Regions from separate parts of the Homo sapiens genome. Here all the other regions are linked to region 6. Evidence: promoter capture Hi-C in 16 types of primary human blood cells and fetal thymus (Javierre and others, 2016). All regions are on one chromosome and are shown on one strand. Each heading gives the region's core, a stretch centred on a gene start or on the middle of the fragment in contact. The rest is flanking DNA. Distances are from core to core; before and after follow the strand shown. Region 1 has its middle 210 kb from the start of LINC00494. Region 2 has its middle 59 kb from the start of LINC00494. Region 3 has its middle 210 kb from the start of PREX1. Region 4 overlaps PREX1 (phosphatidylinositol-3,4,5-trisphosphate dependent Rac exchange factor 1). Region 5 has its middle 6.0 kb from the start of LINC00494. Region 6 holds the start of SULF2 (sulfatase 2). Region 7 has its middle 29 kb from the start of LINC00494.

Region 1 (3,045 bases), core at 492-2,991, 780 kb after region 6:
TATGCCAAAGGGAAGCCATAAAGGGCTTCCTTTAAGCCTTAAGAGATGAAAGTTTTTAAATTAAGAAATAAAAATTGTATGCTGAGGTTGCTAAGATCTTCAGTAAGAATAAATCTTCTATCCTTGAAATTGAGAAGGAAAAAGAAACTCATGCTAGTTTTGCTGCTGCACCTCAAACTGCAAAAGATATGGCCACAGTGCACAAGTGCTTAGTTAAGATGGAAAAAACCATTAAATTTGTGGATGGGAGACATGAACAGAAACGTGTTCAGTCAGGTTCTGTATTAGCTGTGGTTTCAGGGTCCACTGGGAGTCCTGGAATGTATCCCCTGGTGGATAAGGGCTGATGATTGTCTGTGCCAATCACATTTCTCCACCCAACACTCTGGGGAAGCCAGTTAAAATCCCACCTGACCCCAGGGCCTTTGCACTTGCTGTACCAGCTGCTGCCCACAGAGCAGAAACCCAGCTGACCCCAGAGAAACCTGCAGAGGGATCATTACCGCCTGGGAGCACTCTCAAGGGACCAGCACGAGCGCCAGGCCACCGAGGACAGAGTCCACAGCACCCCTCTTCCTGGAAAGCCCACCTGCTTCAGGGCCCCAGACACAGGCTGCAGCTCCCAGACCCCCTTAACTTCACATCAGAGACCCCAGAGCCAGAAAGGCCTTTGAAGGAAAGGCCTTCTTTTAGACCCATTTTTGTATTTGTTTTTGACAAATGAGGAAACAGAGGCACAAGACTCAGAGAATCCAGCTTCTTCCACTCACATCACAAGCTGCGTCTGCCCAGAGTCGCCATGCCTAGCCTCGGGTTCCTGGTGCAAGACGACACACATAGACACAGAATGGGATTCGAGTTGGATTCACAAGGAAAAGGGTTTCCCCCAAAGCCTAAAGACGAAGAAAGGGTCAGACCAAATCATGTTTCCACCCAGTATCTTTTGAGTACTCCCTATGTCGGGCACTATTCTACAGCCTAGGGCTACAGTAATGAAGACAGACACAATTCCTTCCCTCAGGAAGTGGAGGTGATGATGTTAGCAAATGAATACATGCAGTCATTTCAAAGAGAAATAAATTATAAGAAGAGAACAAAGGGAGGCAATGGGCCAGACAGCAAGGGTGGTAGTGGGGCTACTTTAGATGGACAAACTGGGGAGACTGTCCAAGGCCATGGTGAGGAGCTTGGATTACATTCCCATAAAATGAAAATGGGTTAGGGGGCTTAGATGGGGAAGGGACATGACCAGACATGTATTCTAACACCATCCTTCTGGCTGAGTGTGGAGAACAGATTGTCAAGGGTGAGGGTGGAAGCAGAGAGACCATCCTCTCTGGGTGGAAGCGAAGCCACTGTAATTGTCAGGCAGGAGCTGGTGATGCTTGGACTGGAGTGCATAGTGCAGATAGTGAAACGCCGTCAGACCCTGTACGTATCTGGGGGACTGGAGGTGGGGTTGAGGCAAAGAGAAGAGGAAAAACAACACCTGCATTTTAAGCTGAGCCACTAGGTTGATGATTGAGCCCCAGCTCTTCTCTCCTGGGAGCGATAAACATTTGCTATAAGATCTGTGATTCAAATAAGCTTAATATTAAGCTCAGATTATAACTTTGTGTCAGCGACTCTTGATGAAAACCAAGAAAATATCCTGGCATAAGAAAGTCTGATGGGGACACAGGAGAGCAGCACAAAGGAAACCATGGAAGCCTCAACATAGACGTATTATTTTTTCTCGCCATTATAAAGGTGGAGCAACTAGGGCACAGAAAGGTTAAGAAACTTGCTCCAGGTCACACAGCCAGAAAGCAGTAAAGCCAATATTTAAACCTAGTGCCATGTTTTTATTTACTTATTTTTAATTTTTTTTTTAAGACAAGGTCTCACTTGGTCACCCAAGCTTGAGTGCAGTAGCGTGATCACAGCTCACTGCAGCCTCAACCTCTTGAGCCTCAACCTCCTGAGCTCGAGCAATCCTCCCACCTCAGCTTCCCAAGTAGCTGGGACTACAGGAGAGTGCCACCACACCCAGCTAATTTTTTTTTTTATTATTATACTTTAAGTTCTAGGGTACATGTGCACAACATGCAGGTTTGTTACATAGGTATACATGTACCATGTTGGTGTGCTGCACCCATTAACTGGTCATTTACATTAGGTGTTTCTCTTAATGTTATCCCTCCCCCAACCCCACAACAGGCCCTGGGTGTGTGATGTCCCCCGCCCTGTGTCCAAGTGTTCTCATTGTTCAATTTTTGTATTTTTTGTAGAGACGAGGGTCTCCCTAAGTTGCCCAGGCTGATCTTGAACTCCTGGGCTCAAGTGATCCTCCCATCTTGGCCTCCCAAAGTTCTGGGATTACAGGTGTGAGCCACCATGCCCAGCCATAGAGCCACGTTTTTTAATCACTGCACTATTGAACCAGTCTTCAGGTAGAGGATATTGAATTGTTCCAATTTGAAAGTTTATTTTTAATTGTAATACACAGTGTGACTGGGAATGTCTTTATATATTCATCTTTGCCTCCTTGAGCAAGTATTTCTGAAGATAAACTCTCTAGGGAGTGGAGACAGCGGTCTTAGGGTCCCTCATGTTCTGTGGAGTCTGTCAGCTTCCACCTGGCAGCCCTCCACTCTCACATCTTTGCCCGAAAGTCCTCCTTTCTACGAATGAGCCAGGGCCCCCTGCCCAACTGTTGAACTGGCCTTGGAAGGTGGCCAAGCTCCTTCCAGGAGGTGAGGGGTGGGGGGAGAATGCGTCTTCTGAACCTCTAAATAGACCCAGGTCAACAAGGCTCATCCCCTAAAGTCCAACACATTATCTCATGGCCGGCTTCAGCCAGCAAGCAGGCGGCCTCCTGAAAAATTTATCATTTGCTATTTTCTGCTCATCCATGCAGGAGTTCTGACAGTCCTCAGGGCCAGAGACTTCTCCACTGAGATAATCCCAGCATTCCATCCAGTTCCGGGGCAGAGAACAGCCGTCCATCCTCATTAGGGTCCGGTTAGGAGGATGAAGCCGGACACGCAAGATGAGGGGCTCATT
Region 2 (3,280 bases), core at 624-3,123, 630 kb after region 6:
ATATAGGAAAGTTGACATTTTTGGTACAGATTTCTGTGGATTTTTTTTTTTTTTTTTGAGCCTTTGTCTTTTTCTGTCACCCAGGCTGGAATGCAGTGGCACAATCTTGGCTCACTGCAACCTCCGCCTCCTGAGCTCAAGCGATCTTCCCGCCTCAGCCTCCTGAGTAGCTGGAATTACAGGTGCCCGCCACCATGCCTGGCTAATTTTTGTATTTTTAGTAGAGGCGGGGTTTCACCACGTTGGCCAGGCTGATCTCAAACTCCCGACTTCAAGTGACCTACCCGCCTCAGCCTCCCAAACTGCCGGGATTACAGATGGGAGCCACTGCACCCAGCTGATTTCTAAGGATTTTTGACCCATGTAGAAATTCATATAACCACCACCACCATCAGGATCCAAAAGAGTTTCAACCCCCCAACAATTGTCCGGTGCCATCCCTATAGTGAACCCCTGGAAACTGCTGATCTGTCTCCATCACTATAACTTGGTTTTTCTGAGGATGCCAAATAAATAGGATCATAAAGTACATAATTTTGGGACACTGGCTCTGCCCCTCAGCATAATGCCTTTGAGACACAGGCCCATGGCTGCAATGTGGTAATGGTTCCTTCCTTTCCACAGCTGAGCGTCATTCTGGAGTATGGGCATCCCAGTTTATTTATCCATTCACTCGTTGTTGGAGAACATTAGGGCTGTTTCAAGCTTCTAGATTTTTGTGTCTTCTGGTTATTTTTGAGAATTTCACAGCAATTACACTCTATATCTGGTAATGAGTTTCAGAAAAGTGCTTTAGATGGAAGTTCTGCTCTGTATTAGGAATATGTCCTTCACTGATTAGCATATAAGGATTTTAGGGAGGAGATTCTCTCCCCTTCCCCATCTCCTGATGGCAGACCCCGAATTTCTCAGGATGTTCACTTAAAACAGCATATTTCTAAGCCTTGTTTCTAGCTCTACTACGTGAGTGAGGTAATAGTTTCTGCCCTTTCCTTTTAAATGAGCCATAACTATTTTTTAAAATAATACATTTCTCATATATGTCTTCTTTTGAAAAGTGTCTGTTCATGTCTTTTGCCCACTTTTTAATGTTTTTTTTAATTGTAACAAAGATATGGAATCAATCTAAATGCCCATCAGTGATTGACTGGATAAAGAAAACGTGGTACATACACACTGCAAATACTATGCAGTCATAAAAAAATAAATAAATAATAAGATCATGTCCTTTGCAGGGACATGGATGGAGCTGGAGGCCATTATCCTTAGCAAAGTAACACAGGAACAGAAAACCAAATACCACATGTTCTCACTTATAAGTGGGAGCCTAAAGATGAAAGCACATGGACACGTAGTGAGGAACAATACACACTGGTGCCTTTCAGAGGGTGGAGGGTGGGAGGAAGGAGAGGATCAGGAAAAATAACTAATGGGTACTAGGCAGAATACCTGGGTGATGAAATAATCTGGACAACAAACCCCCATGACACAAGTTTACCTATGTAACGAACCTGCACTTGTAGCTCTGAACTTAACAAACAAACAAACAAACAAAAATACGTTTTATTATGTAAGTAACCTTAAAATGAGAAAAAAAATCCAAAGATCAAAGACTGGTTCCTTCCATTCCAAGTAGCCTGACAAGAATATCTAGGAACCAGGAAACCCTAGCTTCCCCCGCAGTCCAGATGGAAGGAATTGGGCTTACAAAAGACCCCACAGGGTCTCACTGCTAAGACTGTGGTCTGTTCTGTTTATGAGCTTATTCTGTCAAGGCCTGTTGGGTTTGGTTTTGTTTAAGGTTTAACAGGATTTCAGACTTAGTGGTGGTCTCTTTGGATTTTCTCCTTCTTTTTCCTTTTGATGCTTAAACATACCCCCACGACACCAAAGAAACAACCATGGCTGAAAAGACTAGAATTACACAGGATGTAATTCCCTTTCACATAAACGCTGAAGAGTGTCACCCCTGGAGCTGTGACTTTGCTGCAAGGAGCCGAAAAATGAGGATTTGTTTAAATAAAGACACAGAGTAGGCTACATGTAAGTAGAGTGTGGACTTAAGGACCCCTCCTTGGGGTTGAGGCTTCAAATCCTAAGCTCCCAAAGGGGACCATTTGAAAAACAAGAATAATTTCTGTTTGGCCAAGTACTGCACTACATAGCTGCATTTGAGAGAAGAGGACTGAGTCTTTTTAGGTTTGCGAATTCCAGTTTTTCCTTTTTTTTTTTTTTTTTTTTTTTTTTAGACAAGGTCTTGTTCTGTCTTGCAGGCAGTGGTGGCTCACTGCAGCCTTGACTTCCTGGGCTCAAGTGATCCTCCAGCCTCAGCTTTCCATGTAGCTGGGACTACAGGCATGCGCCACTATACCTGGTTAATTTTTTTTATGGTTTTTTTTTTTAGTAAAGATGGAATCTTGCTATATTGTTCAGGCTGGTCTTGAACTCCTGGGCTCAAGTGATCCTTCCACCTCAGCCTCCCAAATTGTTGGGATTACAGGCCTGAGCCACCACGCCCAGCCCTTCAGTGTAGTGATCTATGGTGGACATCATACCCTTCTGGGGGCATTTTGGATATTGTGGGGATGGTTTTGGTTGTGTTTTGATTGGGGACACTGACATTTATTCAATTATTCAATAGGAGTCCAGGGACACTAGAATTCTGCCACATTCAGGACACTCAGACACAACAAAGTCCCATGACTTATCCATATCCCTTAGAATAATTCATGAGCCTAGAAACTCACTCCATTTTACACAGAACTCTAGGTATTGATGGCAGCTTTCAAAGGACATTGAACATAGAGTTTGTAGTCTCTGCCCACAGACACCACTGTTCCTTTTTCCCTAACTGCCTGTGCAGAGTGCTGCTGAGCCGTGTGGCTTCCTGCTCTTTGATTGGCCTACTCATCACTGGAGGTGCAGACGTCTCGCTGCTTCTGGGGTTTGTCTAGTGTAGCTACACGTAATCATTTTCACATATTTATTATAAGTTCATTTTATAGAAGTTATTATTTTGTATTATCTGTATTATTTTATAACAAGCTTGTTCCCTTTTCCCTCTTTTATATTACAATTAAGACATCATCCTGATTTGCTTTTAGGTTATACATATAGGTAATTCCTATTATTTTTGAATTTCATTTTAGAATAGTAAAGCATCATCATAAGATATCATAAAATACAGTTCAGTCTAATAGGGCTGAGGATCGCTGTTCCCGTGGAACTCTGCTATGGACGTTTGCTAAGAGGCCCAGAATCGGATTTTTCCAGCAAGAAC
Region 3 (2,937 bases), core at 244-2,743, 840 kb after region 6:
CACAGCGCCATCTAGTGGCCGTCACTTCCACAAAGGTGCACCAGTGACTGTGGGTTTCTGGTCACAAGCTTCGTAAGCACCCCGCTTTACAGTGCATAAGGGCCTTTCATATCCTTCTCCTCCAATCAGAAGAGAGGAAGGGAAAAAAGAGAAAAGAGAGAAGGGAAAGATCCCCGAAAGGAAAGAATTGAAAAATCGAGTCAAGCTCACAGACATATGTTATGGGACAAAGACAAATATAGAAAAGCTTAGAGAGAGAGAAAGAAAATGAGGGGGACGAAAGTAAGAAAGAGACAAATTTTAAAAAGTTTTTAAAAAGAGAGAAAAAAAGAGAAAATATTCACGGCAAGCCCAGCCCAGGAGAGGGATAGCGCCAGTGCCCATTGTCCAGACGATTCCAGGCCCCGCCTCCAGGCTGGCTCTGTCCCAAATACCTGCACCCAGGAGCCAGCCTTCGGTCTGAGTGCTGGAGCCCGGGGAACAGCAGCCTCTGGGCACTACGCGGTCCCCAGCACCACCTGCTGGACAGACAGGGCACTACACTTATCCCGGGAAGTTCCACTTTGGGGCCCTGGAGGAGACTCCTGGTACCCCCGCAAGGCAGCCAGGTGGGCGTAAAGTCTCCATTTCTCAAAGAAGGAAGCTGAGGGTCCCAGAAAGACAGAGAATCTCAGATATGGCCACTCAGCAAGTATCAGGTGTTGACAGATTCAGGAGCAGGCGAGGGTGTCTGACTTCAAAGGTCCTAGTCCAGCCCCCCATGAATGAACCCACGTGGCAGACACAGAGGTTAGAGGGGCCCGCTTGGCCACAGATGGGTGTGGCTTGCGCCCCCCGCTCTGATCACTGTGCTAACCCTGCTTTCTTCTATTAATATTTAGCCGTGATTCACCACTGTCTGGCCCTGGGCTACAGTATGGAAGGGGTGTGGTTCCTGCTCTTACTGCTGGGGGGAAGGTGGACAGGAAGTACACCAACAGTTATTTAGATAAAATCATAAAGCGGTCAACACACCCCATCGTACCTTCCACTTCCTGGGTGGCCTCTGTTGCAGTCCACGCCAAGGGGCCATCTCTGGGTCAGCACCTTTTGACAGATGAAAAAACTGAGGCTCAGAGGAATTCAACCACCTGGGCCCTGCCCTCATCCTGGAGGAGCAGAGAAGGAGAGGCTCCGAGAGACGTCAATGCGGGGCTGCGCCTGCCCCTTGATTCTCCATTGGACGGCACAGTGACTCCGGGTCACCAGGTCCTCCCCGAGCTGACATCGCCATGGCAAGTCCAGAGCTAAGGATCTGGCCGTCAGCGTGAGCAGGCCGGATGAGTGCTCGGACCACGTGGCTCCGGGGAGCTGGAGAGCTGGCACCCTCCTCAAGAAGACAGCCGCTCCTCAGCTCCAGCTGACATGTAGCCAGGTGGGAATGTGGACCAGTGTGACCAGAGCTTCTGATTTTTTCTTTAATCTTTTTTTTAAGAGGCAGGACCACACTACGTTGCCCAGGCTGGAGTGCAGTTGGCTATTCACAGGTGTGATCAAAGCGCACGACAGCCTTGAACTCCTGGTCTCAAGCAATCCTCCCACCTTTGCCTCCAAGTAGCTGGGACCACAGGTGCGCACCACCACACCCAGCTCAGAGCTTCTGATTTTCGAGACAAACTAAAAATCAGAATTCAGAGATGAAATTTGCTGGTTCATAAATATAATTCATTTTTTTAAAACACCATATCAGGAAGGAAGTAAAAAAAAAAACCCACATTTAGTTCCAAGTTTCAGCCTGGAGCCATCAGTTTGAGACCTCTTGTCTCCTGCAAAAATGTCCGCTTGCTCTGAGAGGCCCTTCGTGCTTAGTTTTATACTTGGAGAAACACATCTCGGAGAGGGAGGTGGGCCCGGCTCTCCCTCCCAACTCTGCAAGCACAGCTCTGAGCCTGTAAAGTATGCAACTTGCTCAAGGCCACAGAGAGCCGGCTGGAAACCCAAGCTGCTCCTGCCTACGGCCCCAGGAGAATGTATGTTCCTTCTGCGGGCCCCCAGGGTGGAGGAGAGGCTGAAATCGATGCTTTCTAGAAACGTGTCTGCCTGAAGGAAGACGTCCAATCCTCCCTGTTGACCTCAAATATAGATTGAGGTAACAGGTCTTCCCTCGAAGTGATTTTCCCTGGATCCAAACACTGGCCTCAGATAATTCTAAATAATCAATCCATGACTGTGCCTGAAACCCCACCAGGATTCCCTCTTGCCTGTTAGAGTATTGAGTCCTTTGAAACCTGTAACTGAGAGACGCGAGGATCTCTCTCTGGGAGGGATCCAATCTGGGCCTTCAGAGAATGTAATCTGCAACAGGTTAGTTTGGAAGGAAAAGAGACTGAAAGAGAAGGGGCTCGAGTGTGAAATGGCAGGGCTGGGTGCAGCACCATGGTACAGGGGAGTCCCAAGGGTGGCCATGACCCAGAGGAAACTGTCATCGATTTCAGCATTTTCCAAAGGATTGGAAATCGGGAAAAGATGGAATAAAGAAGAGGCCATACGCAACATACCGAAACCCGGTCTCTATAAAAATTTTTAAAAATTAGCCAGGCATGGTGGTGTGTGCCTGTAGTCCAGGCTACTTGGTAGGCAGCATACTGAAACCTGGTCTCCACAAAAAATTTAACAAATTAGCCAGGCGTGGTGGCACGTGCCTGTAGTTGCAGTTACTTGGGATGCTGAGGTGGGAGGATAAATTGAGCCCAGGAGGTCGAAGCTTAAGTGAGTCATGATCGCGCCACTGCACTCTACCCTGGGTGATAAGAGCAAAAGACCCTGTCTCAAAAAAAAAAAAAAAGGACGAGGGGGCACAGGGCTGGCACAGCAGAACAGGTCTGCAGCCCAGGGAATGAGGTTTCTCTGACTATGCAAACAAACCCAGGCAGCTTCATAAAGATCACCTGGGCCCAG
Region 4 (2,926 bases), core at 353-2,852, 850 kb after region 6:
AACATCGTCCTCTATCCCGGGGCCCCGTCAACATCCACCCAGGCCTGGGCAGTGGCACAGGACAGGGCTCCTGGCTCCAGTGCCCTGAGACTTGTCCCTTGGACACAAGAGGAAGAAGCAAGTTTCAAGTAGCTCTTGGAGGGGCTCCAGGCCAAAGCGTTGCCTCCCCCCGTCCAGGCCCCGAGGGCATGGATGGTCGGCCTTGGGTGGTGGAAGAGGCCGGGTATGTGCCCCCCACACACCTTTAAAGGCCTCACCTGTGCACTTCAGCAAGGCCAGGAGCAGCTGGTTCTTCCCATCTGGAAGGAGAAGGGAGACAGAAAGGGGGACGGGCTGGGAGGGGGCAGCAAGAGGTGAGGGCAGAACCGGGCCCCTCCCCATGGCACCTCCCAAGGTGCTCTGACCCTTCACAGCAAAGCCCTGGCACCCAAGGCTGTGCTCAAGGAGGTTTTATTGATTGTCAGGTAAACTCCAGGAACCCCTGACCTCAGGCAGTGGAACCCCAACTGTGAGCCCCATCTGTACGTGCAAGCCTGGGACACAGATGGAACCAGCCCCTTTAATCCCTGGGCCACAGCCCCTGCCCCACACCTTGTTCACATAAGTATGGTCACACACACGTACAACCTAGATACACACGTATCCATACACACACACACTCACACATCAACAGACACCCAAGTGCATGCCACACACAGAGACACACACATATACTCATACGTAGACTCACATATGTACACACGCAGGTACACATGCGCCCACACAAGCACACAGCAGACACACAAGTGCACACCACACACGTGCACTCATCTGCAGACTCACATACATATGTACACACACAGGTACACACACATCCACACAGACACACAACAGACACACGAGTGCACACATAAGACACACACTCCTAACAGCCTCACATACATATTCTCATCCTACATGGGCATGGCCCTACACACGCCCTGTCCTGCAAAAAAAGCTCAATTCTTCCAGGCCCAACATCCTGTTCTCTTTCCTTAAAAAAGATGCTCCTCGGCCCACAAAAGGGCTTAGAAAGATGTGGAAGGGCTTTGGATTTGGTTTATTAGGTGCCTTCTTCCCCAGGGAGGACTGCAGGACTCAGGGCTGGGCAGGGTAAGAACGAGAGCAGCTGCAGTGGTGCGCTCTTGTCAGGACTCACCACGCCAGGCACCACGGCAGGACTCACCACGCCAGGCAGCCAGGCCAGAACTCACCACACCAGGAAGCCAGGCCAGGAGTCACCACGCCAGGCAGCCAGGGCACTGAGCGCATGACCTATGCTGACTCATTTAATCCTCCTGACCACACGGGAAGGAGGCAGCACTGTGGGCCCATTTGACACAGGAAGAAGCTAAGGCCAGAGGCGTCAAGGAACTCGCCATGATCACACAGCCAGTAAGTGGGTGAGCTGGGATTCAAGCCCTGGTGGTCTGGACCCAGAGTCGATGCTCCTCACTGGTTACACTTTTGGAGAACAGGACAGATCAGAAGCAGCAGAGACTCCGACTCAGAGGCTGCCATTCCCCGAGGGAACAGCCCAGAGTCCTCTAATCTCCCACTGTCCTGGTCAAACATCTCCCTCGTCCGGATCCTTCTAACGCAGGAGTCTCAGACGCAAATGCCGGCAAGGGCCAGGCAGGTGATGTAAGATGCGTGGAGCAGACGCCAAGCCACAGGGAGTGGTGGAGACTGGGGTGAACTGGAAAGCACCTCGGCCCCACGTACACAGAGCGGCCGCCACTCCTCTCCACCAAGGGAGGATGGGAGACTGGGCCTAGAGTCACCAGATCTTCGTGTTGTTCAAGAGCAGCCAGAAATCCAAGTTTCTATGTGAGAACCTTTGTCAAGCTGGAAGCAGAGTCACAGTTTTTGCTGCTGCAGCATCGAAACCTATCTGTGGGCCTGAATCTGGTCAGTGGGCTGCCAGCCGGTGTCCCTCATACCCTGATAATAACAGGAACTCACACATCCAATGCTTTGGAAGCTGAGAAAGAACAGGTTCAGCCTTTTCAACCTCCAAAGTCAGGGCTTTGTTTTGTTTTGTTTTGTTTCTGATTTTTGTTTTGATAGAGACAGGGTCTCACTATGTTGCCCAGGTCTCAAACTCCTGGGCTCAAGTCACATCCTGCCCAGGGCAGGACACTCAGCTGAGAGAGGGCATCACTTCTCTTGTCCTCTCCCTGGTCATGGAGAAACAGGGGTCACAGAACTGGATCCATTCCTGATTCTCTCAGGTTCCACACCAAAAGCCATGGCCCCCTCCCCACCATGATGCACCCTCCCTGCCCACCGACCTTCCACATATCTCTGAATGTTGTCCACCAGGGTCTTGATGGAGTTGGGGAGGTTCCAGGGGTCCTCCTGGATGCTAATCTGGATCAGGCTCCGGCCACGGATTGTACACTCTTCTTTCTGTTTAAACTCTGGGGCAGGAAAGTGGCATGAGGGCCAGGGAAGGGACGGAGGTAGTGTTGGAGAACGGTGGCACAAAGGCCTATGTCCCATCACAGATCCCAGAGCTCATAATCCTAGATCAAGGGAGCTGGCAGGACTCCTGGGCATTATCGGGTCCACAGAGGGTAAGTGTGCTATTTCATGGTACCACACCCATGGCAGGCATTATTCATCAATCTCAGCACTCCTTCCTGCTGCTCTGAGACCAAGACTCCCCACAGCTATAGCCAATCCAGTGCAGACCTCACAAATCAATCACGGCTTTCCTTTCGTCTAAGCCTGGATGTTGTAGCCACAGAAGGATTCTCAGGAACTACCTCCTCATAGCCACAACCAATTGAGATGGCACATGAGTTCTATCCCTTTCCCTACACAGAGGAGGAAGCCCACACACAGAGTGGGAAAGTGACATGCCTTAAGTCATGCAACTGGGCAGTGACAGCGCTGGGACTTA
Region 5 (3,146 bases), core at 466-2,965, 570 kb after region 6:
GATCCAGACTGAGAAACTAATTGACTCTTCCTCCAGTTCATCTTCCCACACTCCTGAGTTCACCAAACACCCTTAAGTCCTAGAGGTGGGGGCTGCAGGACTCACAGAGGAAATGGATGCAGAGAGCTGGCCTCCAGGCCCTTCATGGTAATAGAGGAGTAAAAATGCACACATGTGTGTGACCACATAGACAAACACACCCCAGTACATGCAAACACCCCAGCACACCTGCCCACATCTCAATACACATGCCCACATGCACACACATGCACACATACGTGGGCATACACAAATACCCCAGTATACATGCATACATCCAAGTACACCTGCCCATGTGCACACACCCCCCAACATACCCTCCCATGTGCACACATACCCCAACACACCTGCCCATGGGCACACACACCCTAACACACCTGCCCATGTGCACACACACCCCAACACACCTGCCCATGTGCATACATACACCCCAGTACACCCATACCCTGGCATATACCCCAGTCCATAATTGCCCATGTACACACACACTCCAGCACATCTGTCCATGTGCATATACATATCGGCACATGTACACTTATGCACACACCATGGCACACACACCACCAGAACATATGCGTATGTGTACACACACCCCATCACACATGCAAAGATTGTTGTAAAGCCTATTTTGGAGAATGCGCTCAGGATAAAAGCTACTTTTCAGCTTCCTTTCCTCTCTGCCCCCAAGATATATTTCCCGACACTTCTGGGTCACAGCCTTCAGAGGGATATAGTTAATACCCAAGGGTCTCACCACTGATGAGCTCTAAAGAATTACTTAGAAGCATGATTGTGTGCCAATAAAGAGGATAACTATCCTATTCTCTGAGGGCTGCAGGCAGTCTTCCTCCTTGTCCCATGACACACTTGTAGTTAACAGATAGAATTGCCAATTGTCAGAAAATAGGCAGCCCCTCTGAGATCAGCTCTATGCACTTTGCCAGGATTTGCTTTATTCATTAAAGTGAGTTTTTCTCTCATGGGGTGTCACATCCAGGTTGGCTTCTCAGCCTGCTGCTCTTCAGCTGACTCCCTGAAACAAATTTCCTAAAACTGACTCTGTTGAGTCCCAATCCAGAACTTTCCCTCATTTCTAAATGATATAAATTTCCTTAGGAAATGTTTAAATTGGCTACCAGTATTATGGTTTTATGGCATCCACATTACACATTTCACAGATTTCCAAACCTGCATGTATCAGAACTGAAAAGACCTGAGCTTAAAATCAAAAGAGCTGAATCACTGTGCTCTCTGAAGCTTAGAGAACCATTTAATTGGAGCAATCAATGTGCAATAATAAAAGCACTTTTGCAGTCGTTTTACTTTTTTCACTTGTAAGGACAATGGAAACTGTTCAATTGAAAAGTGACTAATTGATCAGTTATATGGTCATTCAGCAAGAATTTTTTGAATGACTTCTCTGTGCAAAACACTGTTAGGTGTGATGAAGTGTAAAAAGAAGTGTAATACAATTCAATTAAATGAGGCAAATAATGATGAGTTCCTGCCATGCATCAAGAAGTCTGCTAGATTCTGAGATGAGGTAGTGAGCAAAATGCAGATCTTATCACTGAAGAGATGACAGAGTCAAGTGGTGCATCCACTAAATCAGTAACTCTCGTTTAGTAAATGCTTTGTGCTAAAGAGGAAATGAGTTAACATTGGACACAGGCAAAGTCTGGGGCATGCCTTCATTTCCTACAAGTTACATGCTGCATGGAGAATGTGGGTGGGTGCTCAGAGAGATGGTGGGCTGTGGTGATCTGTGAAAATTATAACTGTGGGCACTGGCTCTGGACTCAGGCCCCTCAGGACAAAGCCGTCTCTACCCTTACTCACTCTGGATGTGCATAGGACATTGAAATGCTCCATGCCTCAGTTTCCCAAGCTCTAAAAACTGGACACTAGTACCTAATTCATTGTGAATGAGACAGTGCATGTAGAGAGCTCTTGTGAGCCATTCCTGGAGCTCAGAGGGTGGGAGGGGGTGGCTGTCACTATTGGAGAGTCACAGCAAGTTTTGGTTCCTACTGGGTCCAAGGAGAACGCTGACAGGCAATGTAGCCAGAAAGAGTGTCTACAGCATGATAAAAGAAAAGCTTCTTACAAATTAACAGAGTTTATTTGAGCAAAGAACTATTCATGAGTTGGGCAGCACTCAGAACCAGAAGAGGTTCAGAGACTGCCACCCAGTAGTCTGGACAGTGAGCTTCTATAGGTTAAACATGAAAGCAGATAAATCACCTGATTGGCTACCACTAGGCATCTGCCTTATTTAGGCATGGTGTGATGAGTGGGCTGCCAATGATTGGTTGAAACTTAGCTGTTTCTGATTGCCTGAAATCTGGCTATTTGTTACAAAAAAAAAATACTCCTAAGTTAGGTTTCTGTTTGTTTACTTACCAAGTTAGGTTGTAATTTGTTACTTAGGAGCTTAAAGTAGGGGGATAGCCTTAGGCTAACGGCCTTCTGCTTATTTAATTTATCAAGTACATAAAGATCATCCTGCCTCAGGAATATGGCATTGCATCCAGACCTGGTACCAAGCTGTGAGCCTCCCAGTCTGGCAGAGGCTTTAAAGCCATCAAGCCCAAAGCATGTGGTCTGCCATGCTCCTTTGCCCTGAGCCATCCCTCCACAGTGTGGGAGGCAACTTAATGTAGGGTTGTGGGTTGTAGCAAAACTGGCTTCTCTCTGGCTGGCTACAGTCTGTGAAGGCACTAAGCAGCAGCGAGAAGTTAAGTAAACATCACAATGTCATTAAATTGCTATGGCAGTAAATCTTAGGGTCTCAGGTTCAGAAAATGGGTGGCTCTCAACCTGGGCAATTTTTCCCTCCAGGTACACTTGCCAACAGCTGGACACAGTTTTGGTTGTCACAACTGGGTAAGGGCATAACTGGCATTTACAGAGTAGTGGCCAGAAATGCTGCTGAGCATCCTACAATATGCAGGGCAGTCCCACAACAGAGATTTCCCAGCTGCAAATGTCAATAGTTCTGAGGTTCAGAAACCTTGAGACAGGGCAGCAGCAATGGCTGGTGCTTGCTGGGGGAGGAGGGTGGTTTAATCTGAGTCTTGAAGGACCAAGAAAGTTAGAAGAGCAAA
Region 6 (3,186 bases), core at 687-3,186:
AGACCAGACTTTTACAGTCAACTCATCACTCTACTCTCAAGTTTGAAAATTTAACATGTTATTAGGGTTTCAGAAAAAGCCATAAATTCAAATAAAAAACCCAAGAAGTACACACAAAGCCCAAACCCCAAACCCACATTGACCCTCAGCTGCAGCAGTGATGCCAACATCACGGCCTTTATGTATATAAATTTAGCTGGGGAAGGAAGAGGCCTTCATGTACAAAGGTCCAACATGCCATCTGCCAAGCCCACCACCTTCGCCTTTCAAGCTGCTTATTAGAACGCTAAATTACACATCCGACAGGCTGTCTGGATGAGTTTTCTCTTCTCTATGATGTGGGAGAGACGAAGCTGGGGAGAACATCTCTTACAGGGAAGGGGCCCCCTTCGTTCTGTCCTCCCTACCCCGTTCCTATACTTAACGATTGGCTCTAATTTAATTAGAACCCTCTGGTGGTTCTGTAATGGGAGGCAGAGGCTGTCAAGAAATCACCTTCACTATTCACTACAAGCTGAAATTTGGAGAGCGCGCAGATCCGGGGGTGTCCTCCAGAGAAAGCCCGTCTCTCCTGCTCCCTGTCTCCCCCTGAGAACCTGCTCCAGCGCAGCCTCCCCTTCTCTGCCCCAAAAGTGGGGGTGGACCCGGTGGGAAACAGGCAGGGGACAGATGGAGGGGCGAGAGGGCGGGTGTCCCAACACGCACAGATGAGCAAATACCCAGATTGAAACGTAAGCTGAATGTAATTACTTGGTTAATTAAATATTGACTTTTAACTCAAAAAGTGATTAAAACAAGCTGCAGGAAGACTTTCCAGAAAGGGGGGCAGGGAATGAATCAAAGCTTTCAAGGGGGAGGAGGAGGAGGAGAGGGTCGTCACAGGCAGGTCTGGCTTGCTCTTCCTACTGTGTGCTGGGCCTACTGCGTGCAGGTGGGGGAGTTGCGGACCGAGGCCAGTGTGCAAACTAGGATTGCAGGCTTCCCTTTCCATCTTCCACCCCGAGACGGCATCTCTCTACCCTGCTGCCCTCCCAGTGAACCGGCAGCTTCTGGCGCGCAGGAGCCAGATCCTGTTCAGCCGCGTTTCCCTGGAACAGAACGCGGTGCCCGGCACGAGGGGGTGCTCCAGAAATGCTTGTAGAACGAATGAACGAACTACTATAAGGAATGTTTGGAAAAGTGCACTCCTAGAATTCACCGCTAGACTTCTGAAACCCCGAGGAGCCGGGGAGGGGAGCATCCCTCCGCCAGGCGATGGAAACTCGTTCTGCCCTGGCCTGGGAGGAAGTCTGCCTTTTCGATCCTGTTTGTCCTTTCGGTGTCTGCGAGTTTCCAACCACTCTGAAGATCCGGCCCACTGCTTCCCCGAGTCCTGCCCGGACAAGCCCCACGTGGGCTGGCATCTACCGGTCCCTTGGGTCTAAACCCTAAGGGTCAACAAGGCCATGCCCCTGCGGATGGCCGGCCCAGGCGCGCTCCCCTACCCGGGGCCGCCTGTGCTCGGTGTGCCGTGTCCGCGGGTCAGGGGCGCGGCGGGAAGTCCTCGCCCGCCCGCCAGCCAGCGGGGTCAAACAGGTCATCCCTCTGCGGACGGCCGGCGCCGGAGCCTCCCTCCCGCCCGCCCGGACCCACCTCCGCAAGCAGCGCTGGGGCTGGAGCCGGGCGGTCCGGACCAGCCCCGGCTCACCTGGGCGGCGCTCGCGGCCGGGCTCACGCCGGGGAAGGCTCCGGCCGCCGCGAGCCCCCGCCCGAGCCCCGCGTCCCCCAGCCACCCACCTGCCCCCCACGCCCCACTCACCAGCGCGCACGGCCCCGGCAACCTCACCCGGAGCGGGGCGCCGCCGCCGCCTCTGCCGCAGCCCGGCCGGGCCGCTGGGCGCAGGGGACTCCGCGCCGCCGCTGCCGCTGCCGCCGCCGCCGCCGCCGCTGCCGCTGCTGCATCCCCCGGCGAGCGCTGCTGCTCCTCCTCCTGCCTCCTCCCCGCCCCCCAACGCCGCCGCCACCGCCCCCGGCCCCCTCCCCGCGCGCCGCCCCAGCCAAAGTCCGGCTCCGCACCCCGCCCGGACCGCTCTTAAATCGCCCCAGCCCGGCCGGCCACGCTGCCCCAGCCAGCCCCTTGGCACGGCGCTACCGCCCCCCGCTCGCCTGCCCGCCGGCCTCCACGCAGGGGAGGCGGGCGCGCTCCGGGGCGGGGAGCGTCGGGCCGGGAGCCGCGGACGGCTGGGGCCCGGGGCGCGGGGGGCCCAGCCGCGGTGCCCTCCTCGAGCCCTCCGCGCGCTAGCGCTTTTACCTCCGGCCTGGGGGACGCGCGGCCCGCGACCCGGCCCTGCCTGTCCCCGGCGCACGGCCCCGGCCCCGGCCCCGAAGTCCAGCTCCGGACGGGGCAGTGAACGCAGAGCTGGGGTCCCGGCGGCTCTCGACCTCCCGATGCCTCCGGACTCGGCTGGCCGCGCTCCCGGCGCCGAGCGCGCACCCTCGCCGGGACACACAGACGCACACTCACTCGACACACTCTCGCTCCTGCTCGCCCTCGGCGGAGAGTTGAAACAGATGTGGGATTCGCCCAGGAGCTGGAAACGAGGGAGGGAAGCGAGCCAGAGCCTTGTGTGCACGTGTGTGTGCGTAACACACAAACCAGGGGGCATCGCTAATAAATCAAATATCGTGATAAATTCAGGAGGGCCATCGATCAGGTCCACTTGGCTGGAAACGACGTGAATCTGCCTCTTTTCCGCTTTCTTCTTCTCCTCTCTCGGAGCTGGAGGGAGCCAAATGTTCCGCGGGGAGTGCGACAGCCCCGGCCGGGCGCTCCCCTCGTAATGACACGTTAATAAATGTTTTCTTTTATCTGCTTTCACAGGACTCGCCCCGGTCTGCAAACACTCGACTGCCTTTGCCGAAAGCCTCGCGCTCGCCTCCAGCCACACACATTTGCCATTGGAGAGGCCGGCGCCGGCCGCGACCCGCAGCTCAATCGCAGGGCAAACCGAGCTGCCTGTGCGCGCCCGAGAACTCCCCGAGAAATTAACTTCGGCTCAAGTGAAAATAGCAGCTGTTGTCCAGAAATGGCCCGGGAGTAGCATAGAAAGGAGAAACCGGCTTCCTCCGAAAGGGGAGGAATTGGACTCAAGGGGGTGCTGTCTACCGTGGTTTCCGCTGTCCCTCGCGCCACAGAAGAGGCCGGAG
Region 7 (3,276 bases), core at 444-2,943, 550 kb after region 6:
AGAGAGGGAGGGAGGGAGGGAGAGAGAAGGAGGGAAGGAGGGAGGGAAGGAAGGAAGGAAAGAAAGAAGGAGGGAAAAGGCAAGAAAGGAGAAAGAGGACTCTGAACATTCAGATAACAAAAGATTTACAGATCTGTTCTGACGTTCTGTTGACGGGGCACCCCATGTTCAGCCAGTTTTGCCTGTTTCAGTTTTTGTGACGAGTGCTCCTTGATGTTGGATGTTGGGCACAAGAGCACCCTCCTAAGCATCCAGCCTCTGTCTACTTTTTCCCTTTTGTGGGCACTGGTAACTTTCTCAGATCAGCACTAGAAACTCCCCTTTGGCTAAAATAATTACCAATGTGAAAATAACTGAGACAGGGTAGCCCTACCACATGCCAGTTTGCAATGCTCAGCACGCACCAACCCGTTCGTGCTTCCCAGGACCTGTGAAGACAGAGCTGCTTTTAGCCCACTCTCTGCTGGGGAAGCACAGGAGGTGGGGAACTTTCCCAGGTTAGAGGTGGGCCCTCAGGGCAGGTTGTGTCCCCAGGGCCCCCTCCCACAGGCCTTTCTCCAACAAAGCAGCCCCCCCATTTATCCTGGCCAGATAACTGATTCCTTCCTGGTTGGCCTTGGTCTTTGGAGGACTTGCACCGAGTTTGCCAGGAGGGTGGGACTGACTGTCTTTGGTGAATTCATGGGGAGTTCCAGATGGAGCCAGCCCCTGGGAACCTGGCAAAGCAAAGCTTAGGTTTCCTGGTAGGGGAGGCCCAGAGACCATGTGCTCCCCCTGCTGGGGCCTCGTCCACCAGCCCCCAGACAGCCGCCTGCTCTGCAGGACCCAAAGTCAGGAGACAGAGGTGGACAATCCATGTTGCCTCTTAAATGTTGCAGCCACAAGGCAAGAGGTCCTCAAGATGCGTCCCAGCAAAATCTAGAGATGAAAGTCAGCCTGTGTGAAGAGTGTCAGGAACCTACTATGGGGTCATTGTACATTTTCCCTAGCTAAAAAGAATGGAAACCAAAAAAATGAATTATAAATAGACACTGTAGGGCTTCTTTTATTATTACACATATACAGTTTCACAAAGCAGTGAGTCACCCTTATTCACATTAAGCAAAGTTCCAGCTTCCATGAAAAGGTCATTTTTCTATGCTTTTCTAAGATCCTGCCTGAAGGTGCCTGTTTCTCTCATGGGAAGGATGCAATGCTGCCTCTCACCATTGCAGCTCCTGACAGCCTATGAATGCCCGAAGGCCTTTTCCTCCTCTGTGATAGACACATTGTGATATGGATTTTCAAGGTCCATTTTATTCCTTCCAGAAGAAAAAGAGGCTTCATAATCTCAGAGCAGATTTGTCATATATATATGTGCGTGTGTGTGTGTGTGTGTGTGTGTGTGTGTGTGTGTGTGTATATATATTCAGAGGTTATTGGGGAAAGACATAGGAATTGCTTTTTTCTTTTTAAATTGATTTTTGTTTTGTGGCAGCAAACTATGAGATGAACAAGAATGAGCATAAACCTAACTCTAAAACAGAAGAAAAATCACTGATTTTTAAGGAGAAGTGCAAATAGTAAGAGAATGCATATCAGCATGCGTTTATGAGTTCTAAATCTTGCCAAAACTAAAATCGTTTTTAAGAAAATTTTTTAAGCATTGTTACAAACATTGAATGCATCATCTTCAAATGTCTTTAGTAGACATGGAGGCATGGGAGAATTAAAGCCAGTCTTTAGGAAGGAATAAAAAGCTACACTAAAGTTAATTATTGATCTCACAATGGATGAGAAGAAAACACTTGGATTATAAAAAGGAAGCCCAGACAAAATAATATCACTTTGTAATGTCGAAAACTTAAGATTTTAACTTTTATCTTATGTATCTGTTTCTGATGAACATTCATAATTATACATATTGTATTTATTTTCTTTGTCTTATAAGAAAAGATAAAGGATAAAGAGACGAATGTGTTTCAGGCGTGGTTCAGCCTATGAAGTCTCCATATTCATAGGAAGCCACTGGATTTATACAACATCAGGGGATCATAATGAACACCACGGTCTACTCTGAGTCTTGCAAAAGTGAGAACAATGTTAAAATGAAAACCCCAATTAGCCTGAATTAAGAGGCACTATTTTGTTCTGACCAGAGAGGATTTTCTCTGTGTGGTCTTATAGTTGAAGTCTCCTACCAGTAAGTTAGCATGTATTGGAGAATCTAAGATCTTTCCCAAGTTGGTCTGTTTTAGTCAGACTGTCCTAATTCCAACTGATGGCATCTAAATAAAAATTTATCTTATTAAAAAAGGCATAATGAGGAGTAATTGGCTCATGTCATTAAAAAGTCCAAGAGCAATAGCTTCAGGCATGGCTGGATCCAGGTACTCAAATGATGGTATCAGGAAGTGACACCCACCCCCCCACCTCCTAGCTGTGACTTGTTCTCTGTGAATCCCATTCTCAGGCAAGCTCTTCTGTCCTGGCACCTATTCACATCCTCAGGAGCTCTGAGAGAAAAATAAATTTTCTGTCCCACAGTTTCAACAAAAGTCTCAGAATTGAGTCTCACATGTCCACCTATGATCCAATCTCTGTCCAAGGGCATAGAATTTTCTAATGGCTCAAACTCACTGCTGTTACAGCAAAAGATAGCAAAAGAACCCAGACTCAAGCTTTTCAAACAATGTTTTGCTGTTTAGAAGAGCCATGCTGCAGGAAGGAAGGAGGACAGAGAACTCACCAGTTACTAGTGGCTTTTCATGACCTGGCAAAACAAGGAGGTGACATAGCAAAACAAGCCCATTCAGATTGAATGACAGGGTACCTAGACCCACCTTTCATGGGAGGAGTGTTTAAAACCATGCAGCATGTTTTTAAAACCACCATAGTTGGTAGTCAGCTCAAAACACATCCTAGATTGGCTTTTCCTCTTCCCGCATTTTATTCTTGCCAGTCCCCCAAATCCAGATCCTGGGATCATTTCTGGGAAATAATCTACCTGCTCTTGTCTCAGGTCCTGCATGTGGAGGATCCCAGGCAAAGACACTGTCCATAGCCCCTTCAGGCTTATCGGATATGGTTTGTTTTAGATGGAAATGAGTTCTATACTGAACCTGCTTCAGGTGGAATTTGTGATTATCCTTGAGATAAAGGAAATTCACCCAGGGGTAAATTCCAACATAAACACATATTCTGCTTTCTTTCAAAAGACTACTTTACCTTCTACTTTTCCCATCTCTTCCATTAATGGTTGCCTGCATTCCCTGAACTTTGCATAATTGGAAGAGC

What was found. Contacts are between HindIII fragments. The CHiCAGO score rates a contact against its expected background, and 5 or more counts as called.
Region 1: a fragment that was not itself captured here is called in contact with the fragment with the promoter of SULF2 in region 6 in 3 of 17 cell types (erythroblasts, M1 macrophages and M0 macrophages); the score reaches 6.9 in erythroblasts.
Region 2: a contact is called between a fragment that was not itself captured here and the fragment with the promoter of SULF2 in region 6, in 1 of 17 cell types (M1 macrophages). The highest score is 5.2, in M1 macrophages.
Region 3: a fragment that was not itself captured here is called in contact with the fragment with the promoter of SULF2 in region 6 in 14 of 17 cell types (endothelial precursors, M2 macrophages, M0 macrophages and 11 more); the score reaches 55.1 in endothelial precursors.
Region 4: a contact is called between a fragment that was not itself captured here and the fragment with the promoter of SULF2 in region 6, in 5 of 17 cell types (naive B cells, M1 macrophages, total B cells and 2 more). The highest score is 9.0, in naive B cells.
Region 5: a fragment that was not itself captured here is called in contact with the fragment with the promoter of SULF2 in region 6 in 1 of 17 cell types (endothelial precursors); the score reaches 5.1 in endothelial precursors.
Region 7: a fragment that was not itself captured here is called in contact with the fragment with the promoter of SULF2 in region 6 in 6 of 17 cell types (endothelial precursors, M1 macrophages, M2 macrophages and 3 more); the score reaches 10.4 in endothelial precursors.

The regions. Positions count from the first base shown.
Region 1 is chr20:48,566,932-48,569,976 of GRCh38, forward strand. No RefSeq gene overlaps it. Among named protein-coding and RNA genes, the nearest start is that of LINC00494, 210 kb to the left of the region's middle. The HindIII fragment of the contact is 313 bases long and covers 1,586-1,898 here.
Region 2 is chr20:48,417,525-48,420,804 of GRCh38, forward strand. No RefSeq gene overlaps it. Among named protein-coding and RNA genes, the nearest start is that of LINC00494, 59 kb to the left of the region's middle. The HindIII fragment of the contact is 2,340 bases long and covers 704-3,043 here.
Region 3 is chr20:48,620,650-48,623,586 of GRCh38, forward strand. No RefSeq gene overlaps it. Among named protein-coding and RNA genes, the nearest start is that of PREX1, 210 kb to the right of the region's middle. RefSeq lists a silencer at 1-34 and an enhancer at 335-394. The HindIII fragment of the contact is 2,496 bases long and covers 246-2,741 here.
Region 4 is chr20:48,637,454-48,640,379 of GRCh38, forward strand. It overlaps PREX1 (phosphatidylinositol-3,4,5-trisphosphate dependent Rac exchange factor 1), which reads right to left. Exons shown (of 40, transcript NM_020820.4): 30 at 2,313-2,441; 31 at 258-299. Among named protein-coding and RNA genes, the nearest start is that of PREX1, 190 kb to the right of the region's middle. RefSeq lists an enhancer at 1,098-1,392. The HindIII fragment of the contact is 6,763 bases long and covers 1-2,926 here.
Region 5 is chr20:48,352,363-48,355,508 of GRCh38, forward strand. No RefSeq gene overlaps it. Among named protein-coding and RNA genes, the nearest start is that of LINC00494, 6.0 kb to the right of the region's middle. The HindIII fragment of the contact is 842 bases long and covers 1,295-2,136 here.
Region 6 is chr20:47,783,545-47,786,730 of GRCh38, forward strand. SULF2 (sulfatase 2) reads right to left here and starts at 1,937. Exons shown (of 21, transcript NM_001387048.1): 1 at 1,799-1,937. LOC124904920 (a long non-coding RNA gene) reads left to right here and starts at 2,210. Exons shown (of 2, transcript XR_007067618.1): 1 at 2,210-2,618; 2 at 2,861-3,186. RefSeq lists an enhancer at 3,055-3,186. The HindIII fragment of the contact is 4,753 bases long and covers 842-3,186 here.
Region 7 is chr20:48,329,317-48,332,592 of GRCh38, forward strand. No RefSeq gene overlaps it. Among named protein-coding and RNA genes, the nearest start is that of LINC00494, 29 kb to the right of the region's middle. The HindIII fragment of the contact is 1,930 bases long and covers 729-2,658 here.